3 separate regions of the Homo sapiens genome follow, and all the other regions are linked to region 1. Evidence: promoter capture Hi-C in human tissues and cell types (Jung and others, 2019). All regions are on one chromosome and are shown on one strand. Each heading gives the region's core, a stretch centred on a gene start or on the middle of the fragment in contact. The rest is flanking DNA. Distances are from core to core; before and after follow the strand shown. Region 1 holds the start of OR2G2 (olfactory receptor family 2 subfamily G member 2). Region 2 overlaps LOC102724446 (a long non-coding RNA gene). Region 3 overlaps GCSAML (germinal center associated signaling and motility like).

What was found. The method cuts DNA at HindIII sites, captures the fragments that hold promoters and counts their contacts. A contact is called where the count stands out against the background at its distance.
Region 2: a fragment that was not itself captured here is called in contact with the fragment with the promoter of OR2G2 in region 1 in 4 of the 25 tissues and cell types used here (liver, small bowel, stomach and 1 more).
Region 3: a fragment that was not itself captured here is called in contact with the fragment with the promoter of OR2G2 in region 1 in 2 of the 25 tissues and cell types used here (mesendoderm cells and thymus).

Annotation. Positions count from the first base shown.
Region 1 is chr1:247,587,058-247,589,742 of GRCh38, forward strand. OR2G2 (olfactory receptor family 2 subfamily G member 2) reads left to right here and starts at 1,303. Exons shown (of 1, transcript NM_001001915.1): 1 at 1,303-2,256. The coding sequence starts at 1,303. The coding sequence ends at 2,256. The region is part of intron 2 of LOC102724446 (a long non-coding RNA gene); the gene reads right to left. The HindIII fragment of the contact is 12,436 bases long and covers 1-2,685 here.
Region 2 is chr1:247,624,106-247,626,790 of GRCh38, forward strand. All of the region lies in intron 2 of LOC102724446 (a long non-coding RNA gene), which reads right to left. Among named protein-coding and RNA genes, the nearest start is that of OR14L1, 8.3 kb to the left of the region's middle. The HindIII fragment of the contact is 5,542 bases long and covers 1-2,685 here.
Region 3 is chr1:247,552,254-247,554,938 of GRCh38, forward strand. The region is part of intron 1 of GCSAML (germinal center associated signaling and motility like); the gene reads left to right. Among named protein-coding and RNA genes, the nearest start is that of GCSAML, 4.5 kb to the left of the region's middle. The HindIII fragment of the contact is 9,997 bases long and covers 1-2,685 here.

The DNA of each region.
Region 1 (2,685 bases), core at 53-2,552:
CATTGTTGTTCTTTCTTCTTTGCCCTTTTCTTCATAAACTATTTTCTTTTAGCCTTTTAGGGATCCAGTATTTGAGAAGTAATTTAGGCTGCACATTAGTTCTTTTTTTTTTTTTATCACTGTTAGTAACTGATGGAGTGACATATTTAATACCCATTTTTAAAATTTTGATTCCTTTCCAATGTACACAAATAGGTCTTGTGATTATTAAAACCTTTTTCTTTTTTTAATTATTATTATACTTTAAGTTTTAGGGTACATGTGCACAATGTGCAGGTTCGTTACATTTGTATACATGTGTCATGTTGGTGTGCTGCACCCATTAACTCGTCACTTAGCGTTAGGTATATCTCCTAATGCTATCCCTCCCCCGTCCCCCCACCCCACAACAGTCCCCGGTGTGTGATGTTCCCCTTCCTGTGTCCATGTGTTCTCATTGTTCAATTCCCACCTATGAGTGGGAATATGCGGTGTTTGGTTTTTTGTCCTTGAGATAGTTTGCTGAGAATGATGATTTCCAGCTTCATCCACGTCCCTACAAAGGACATGAACTCATCCTTTTTTATGGCTGCATAGTATTCCATGGTGTCTATGTGCCACATTTTCTTAATCCAGTCTAACATTGTTGGACATTTGGGTTGGTTCCAAGTCTTTGCTATTGTGAATAGTGCCCCAATAAACATACGTGTGCATGTGTCTTTATAGCAGCATGATTTATAATCCTTTGGGTATATACCCTGTAATGGGATGGCTGGGTCAGATGGTATTTCTAGTTCTAGATCCCTGAGGAATCGCCACACCAACTTCCACAATGGTTGAACTAGTTTACAGTCCCACCAACAGTGTAAAAGTGTTCCTATTTCTCCACATCCTTTCCAGCACCTGTTGTTTCCTGACTTTCAATGATCGCCATTCTAACTGGTGTGAGATGGTATCTCGAGACTCCCTTTTTCTGTAACTTGAAATACATTAATATAAAAGGGGAAATTTATTTTAAAGGAAGGGTCAAATTTATTTCCTGCAAAAGATGATGATGTTTCCTAATGTCTGCTCTTGCTCTTCTCTGCTTCGGAAAGCATTGAAGAACAGCTAAGATATTTGAAGGATGTGTATTGCATTTATTTATAATGCACATATTCGGAAAATAAATAGATCTAAGTCACTGGATGTAAAGACATAGCTTCTAAGCATTTAACATACAATACTTTTTTGGGTAGGCAGGTGACATTGTCACTCATTTAACCCTATGTGATGTGTTATCTTTCTCAGCTATGCCTCAGCCTTGGGGAACACACTTTACATATGGGGATGGTGAGACATACCAATGAGAGCAACCTAGCAGGTTTCATCCTTTTAGGGTTTTCTGATTATCCTCAGTTACAGAAGGTTCTATTTGTGCTCATATTGATTCTGTATTTACTAACTATTTTGGGGAATACCACCATCATTCTGGTTTCTCGTCTGGAACCCAAGCTTCATATGCCGATGTATTTCTTCCTTTCTCATCTCTCCTTCCTGTACCGCTGCTTCACCAGCAGTGTTATTCCCCAGCTCCTGGTAAACCTGTGGGAACCCATGAAAACTATCGCCTATGGTGGCTGTTTGGTTCACCTTTACAACTCCCATGCCCTGGGATCCACTGAGTGCGTCCTCCCGGCTGTGATGTCCTGTGACCGCTATGTGGCTGTCTGCCGTCCTCTCCATTACACTGTCTTAATGCATATCCATCTCTGCATGGCCTTGGCATCTATGGCATGGCTCAGTGGAATAGCCACCACCCTGGTACAGTCCACCCTCACCCTGCAGCTGCCCTTCTGTGGGCATCGCCAAGTGGATCATTTCATCTGCGAGGTCCCTGTGCTCATCAAGCTGGCTTGTGTGGGCACCACGTTTAACGAGGCTGAGCTTTTTGTGGCTAGTATCCTTTTCCTTATAGTGCCTGTCTCATTCATCCTGGTCTCCTCTGGCTACATTGCCCACGCAGTGTTGAGGATTAAGTCAGCTACCAGGAGACAGAAAGCATTCGGGACCTGCTTCTCCCACCTGACAGTGGTCACCATCTTTTATGGAACCATCATCTTCATGTATCTGCAGCCAGCCAAGAGTAGATCCAGGGACCAGGGCAAGTTTGTTTCTCTCTTCTACACTGTGGTAACCCGCATGCTTAACCCTCTTATTTATACCTTGAGGATCAAGGAGGTGAAAGGGGCATTAAAGAAAGTTCTAGCAAAGGCTCTGGGAGTAAATATTTTATGATTATTAAAAAAAAATTTAAGTGACACTGTGATGAATTTTTTTTTTGGTAAAAAGTAGCATCTTTTAATAAGAGGATTTTTTATGGGCTCTTCTCACATTTTCTTTTGATTAAATATTTGTACGACATTTTGCATTATGTAAAATACTATGGAATATATGTCTACATACATACATGAAACATATGTCTATAAAGTCGCAACTTGGCCATTACCCAGTAGCAGTATAAGGTGAGTCCTTTAGTCAATCTATGCTTCAGTGCCTTTGCTGCAGAATATATCATTTGTGTAGTACATTTGAAACTACTTTTAAATAAATACTTTACTGGATTAAGATAGGCATGAACATATTCAAGAAATGTTTATGTCAGCCAGCTTTTTTTTTTGGTTGCTAATAACGCATTAATCTCTGAGCCTTCCTGTAGATGGACAC
Region 2 (2,685 bases), core at 120-2,619, 37 kb after region 1:
CACTGGAAAACAATTTCCTAAATTTGTCTTGAATTTTCTTCCTCAGATGAAAAAACCATAACTGTATTAGCTTTACAACTTATAATTACTTTGTAAATATATTTGATTATTTTCTGTCGAAGTAGCACGTGTGTGCGTGCTTGGGTGTGTGTGTGTGTGCACTATGACTCAGAGTCAAAGTGAATGTATTTATACTAAATGGATATGTTCATTCATAGATATTTATTGATTGATAACTGTGCACTAAGCTAATCAGGGAGAAAGTTACCGTAGCAGAGAGAAGAAACAATTTTTTCCACTGATGAAATAATAAATAAACCAATTCAAATAATGCATAATTTATTGTCTGGAATTGTAGTTAAATGAAGAAGCATAGAGAAAGGTAAGAGGATAGAGAATGAAGTAGTATTGGATTCCAGTTTTTTAAATTTTTGATTTAATTTTTATTTTTATGGGTATATAGTAGGTGTATATATATGAGATACATGAGATATCTTGATAAAGGCATGCAATAAATAGTAATCACATCAGGGTAAATGGGGTATCCATGACCTGAAGCATTTATCTTTTGTGTTACAAACAATCCAGTTATAATATGTTAGTAGTTTTAAAATGTATGATTAAATTATTTTTGACTACAGTCATTCTGTTGTGTTAACAAACACTAAGTCCTAATAATTATTTCTATTTTTGTACCCATCAACCATCACTATTTCCTCCCCACTTCCCCCAACTACCCTTACCAGACCATGCTTCTACTCTCTAGCTCCAAGAGTTTGATTATTTTAATTTTTAGCTTCCACAAATAAATGAGAACATGTGAAGTTTGTCTTTTTGTGCTTGGCTCATTTTGCTTAAAATGATGAACTCCAGTTTCATCCATGTTGTTGCAAATGACAGGATTTCATTCTTCTTATGGTTGACTAGAACCCCATTGTGTATAGTTACCAAATTTTCTTTATCCATTCATCTGTTGTTGGACACTTGTGTTGCTTCCATTGTGTAACTATTGTGAGCAGAGCTGTAGCAAACATTGTAGTGCAGGCACCTTTTCAATACACTAATTTCCTTTCTTTTGTGTACGTACCTAGGAGTGGGATTGCAGGATTGTATGGTAACTCTATTTTTAATTTTTTGAGGAACTGTCAAACTGTTGTCCATAGTGATTCTACTAATTTACATTCTAACCCACAGTGTACAAGGGTTCTCTTTGCTTCACATCCTTGCCAGCATTTGTTATAGCCTGACTGACTTTTGGATAAAAACCATTTTATCTGGGGTGAGGTGATATCTCATTGTAGTTTTGATTTGTATTTCTCTGACAATCAGTGATATTGAGGACCTTTTCATATACCTGTTTGCCATTTTTATGTCTTCTTTTGAGAAATGCCTATTCAGATCTTTTGCCCATGTTTAAATCAGATTATTAGATTTGTCCCTAGAGAGTTATTTGTGCTCTTTATATATTCTGTCAGATGGGTAGTTTTCAAATATTTTCTCTCAGTCTATGGGTTTTGTCTTCACTTTGTTGATTGTTTCCTTTGCTGTGCCAGAGATTTTTAACTTGATGTGATCATTTGTCCATTTTTGCTTTGGTTGCCTGTGCTTTTGAGGTATTAGTCAATAAATCTTCAACCAGTCCAATGTCTGAGAGCATTCTCCAATGTTTTCTTTTAGTATTTTCATAGTTTGAGGTCTTACATTTAAGTCTTTAATCCATTTTGATTTGAGTTTTCTATATGGTGAGAGAAAGGGGTCTAGTTTTATTCTTCTGCATACGAATATCCAGTTTTCCCAGCACCACTTATTGAAAATGGTGTTCTTTCCCTAATGTATGATCTTGGCACCTTTGTCAAAATTGAGTTCACTGTAGATGTATAGATTTATCTCTGGGTTCTCTATTCTGTTCCACTGATCTATGTGTCTGTTTTTATACCAGAACCATGCCGTTTTGATTACTAAAGCTCTGTAGTATAACTTAAAGTCAAATAATGTGATTCCTCCAGTTTTGTTCTTTTTACTTAATAAATCTTTGCTATTCTGGGTCTTTTGTGGTTCCACATAGATTTTAGGACTTTTTTTCCTATTTCTGTGAAAAATGTCATTGGTATTTTGATAAGGATTGAATTGAATCTGTATATTACTTTAGATAGAGTGGACATTTTAACAATATTTATTCTCCTAATCCATGAACGTGAAACATCTTTCCAGTATTTTGTGTCTTCTCCAATTTATTGCATCAGCGTTTTATAGTTTTCATTGTAGAAATCATTCACTTCTGTGGTTAATTCCTTGGTATTTTATTTTATTTGTAGTTATTGTCTGGTCTGGTGTTGATGAAATTCGCCAGCTCTTGTTTTTCTGGAAAGTCTTCAATTCTTCTTCATATTTAACTAATATTTTCCCTGGATATGGTATTCCAGAATAAAAGTATTTTTCCTTCTGCACTGTAAACATGTCATACCATTCTCCTGGTCTGTAAGCTTTCTGTTGAAAAGTCAGTTCCTAGATGTATTTGAGCTTCATGGTATGTTATTTGTTTCTTGTCTCTTGCTGCTTTTAGGATACTTTATTTTGACCTTCGGAAGTTTATTAAATACCTTGAGGTAGTCTTATTTGGGCTAAATCTGATTGGTGTTCTATAACCTTGTACTTGAATAATGATATAGGTTTGGGAAATTCTAT
Region 3 (2,685 bases), core at 68-2,567, 35 kb before region 1:
AGGAACAACCAAAATGAAGAGGAAATTCAGTGAAAGTAAATGCATTCCCAAGGAGTCACCTTGGTGTGTGTCAGTCATTGGGATCACAGATGTGGTGTGAGAGAAGGCTGGAGAATGGCCTCTAGAACACGGATGCAGAGAGCCTCCTGTTGCTCTGACCCTGCTTGTCAGAGGCCTGTTACCTTGGGCAGTGCCTAATTTGCAGCCTGATAATTGGCTGCAGATGAGTCTGGGGAAGGTAGCTGCTGCTTTCTAGCCCCTGACTAGCAAGAGGGTGAAGTAAATGTAGACATCGCCCATGGGCAGTGTCCATCACATACCCTCTTTAGTCTTTATTTCAAAATTGATTTAGTTCTTTGAAGACTTTATCCTCCCATATAAATTTGTACACAAATTCTGAATTTGTGTATTATATAAAAAGTGCCAGCTTGAATTTGGATTCAGACAACATTGTGAATATAGAGATCTATTTGCAAATTCTTCTATGTTTATGCAGATGTACTATATGTATATATATTTTGAGATGGAGTCTTGCTCTGTCACCCAGGCTGGAGGGCAGTGGCATGATCTCGGCTCACTGCAACCTCCACCTTCCAGGTTCAAGCGATTCTTCTGCCTCAGCCTACCGAGTAGCTGGGACTACAGGCACGCACCACCATGCCCGTCTAAGTTTTGTATTTTTAGTGGAGACGGGGTTTCACCATATTGGCCAGGCTGGTCTTGAACTCCTGACCTTGTGATCTACCTGCCTCGGCCTCCTAAAGTGCTGGGATTACAGGCGTGAGCCACTGCGCCTGGTCTATGCAGATATACTATTAATACACCAATCAAAACAATTATTTATAATTATCTTTATTCAAATCTTCTTTAATGCATTCTGATAGAGCTTTAATTTTTTGTTTTTATTTTATTCTTTGTTAGATAGATTTCTAGATACCATATGCAACAGTAATAAATCTATGAATGACATTTTTTCCTAGCCTGTTATTGTTGGAATGCTATTGAATTTTGCAAGATGACTTTGTATCCACTAGCCTTGTTGAATTTCTCATTTTTTTTCATGGTTTTTTAATCCTACTGGGTTTACATAGTTAATATATCATCTATAAAGTTAAAGATTTTTCTATTCTTTTTTTGTTCCTTACAAGTCTTATAGGTACCTTTATCATGTTTTATAGCATAGTTATGTCAGAATTCTTAGGCATCATTTTCTTGTAACTGATCATAATAATTTTTTTCTAAATTGTTTTCATCAAGGTTGCTGTATATTTTTGACATTTATATTTGGCATTTATGTTTTTGGCATATTGCCTCTATCAAAATAAGGAGATTCTACTTTTTAAAAAAATATGTAGAGATGAGATTTCACTATGTTGCCCGGTCTGGAGTGCAGTGGCTATTCACAGATGCAATCAGAGTGCACTACAGCTTTGAACTCCTGGCCTCAAGTGATCTTCCTGCCTCAGCCTCCCAAGGAGCTGGGATTACAGGCCTGCACCACTGCACCCAGCTCTTCTGAGGGTTTTTATTGTTAATAAGGACCAAACATTATCAAATGCAGTTTTAAACTATTGAGATAACCTCATGATTCTTCTCTTAGGCTTCTAAAGTAGTTAATTATGTTAATAAATATTTTTGCTAATTACCTATCTTTTAATTTCTGGGATAAAACCCATTTGATTGTGATGTGTGCAATTTTACTATAGTTTTAGATTTAGTTAACTTATATTTTATTGAGGATTATTGCATCTATTTTCATGATCGAGTTGGACCTGTGATTTTTAAAAATTTGATTTATTTAATTTGAAATGAAAGTTTACCAATCTCATTAAATGGGTTGGCATCATTTTACATTTCTCTACTTTCTGGAACATCTTATATATGAGAGAGTATATTTGTCACTTGAAGTTTGGTAAATTGTGTACGCAGCTGTGTAAGCTGGATTTTTTTGTTATTGATGTTATTCATGTGTCAGTTTTTATATTTCATTTTTTCCAAGATATTATTCATTTTAAGCCATAATGTTTATTATACATAATTCTTCATCATGCCTGTTTTATGTCTGTAATACTTATTTTGAACTTTCTGTTTTCATTATATTTTTGTCTCCATTCCTTATTTCTTTAGTTGGTCTTTCCAGACTTTTGCTATCTTACTGATATTATTCTTTTCTAAGATTTGGTTCCCTATCATATTTATTTTTACCCACAACTTTCTTGTTTCCTTTTTCTTCTCCCAACTTCTTAAGATAAATGCTTACTTTGTCATTATTAGTCATTTATGTTTTCTTATGAATGTATTTTAGCAAGCTATTTTCTTCACACTTCACTTTATCCTTCAAATAGTCTTGTGTAGCTTGCATTATTATTTTATTCTGTGTTTTTAGAAAGTTCCTTTATGATTCCCTCTTTAACATAAGGATTATTTAGAATATTACTTGTGCCTAGACAGGTACACTTTTGGTTATAGCTTATTGGGTTTTAATTTTACTGCTTGATAGTTGGAGAAATCATGTGCAAATTGTTGATTTTGGGGGATGTTTACTAAGACTTTCTTTGTAGAGTTATGAAGTCATAAGTCAACATCCAACATTTAGAAAGTTTAAAAATAAGAAGAAAAAACACAGAAGGTATAAAAAATTATTCATAATCTTAATTCTTTGGCCAAGATACATCTAAAGCTTAA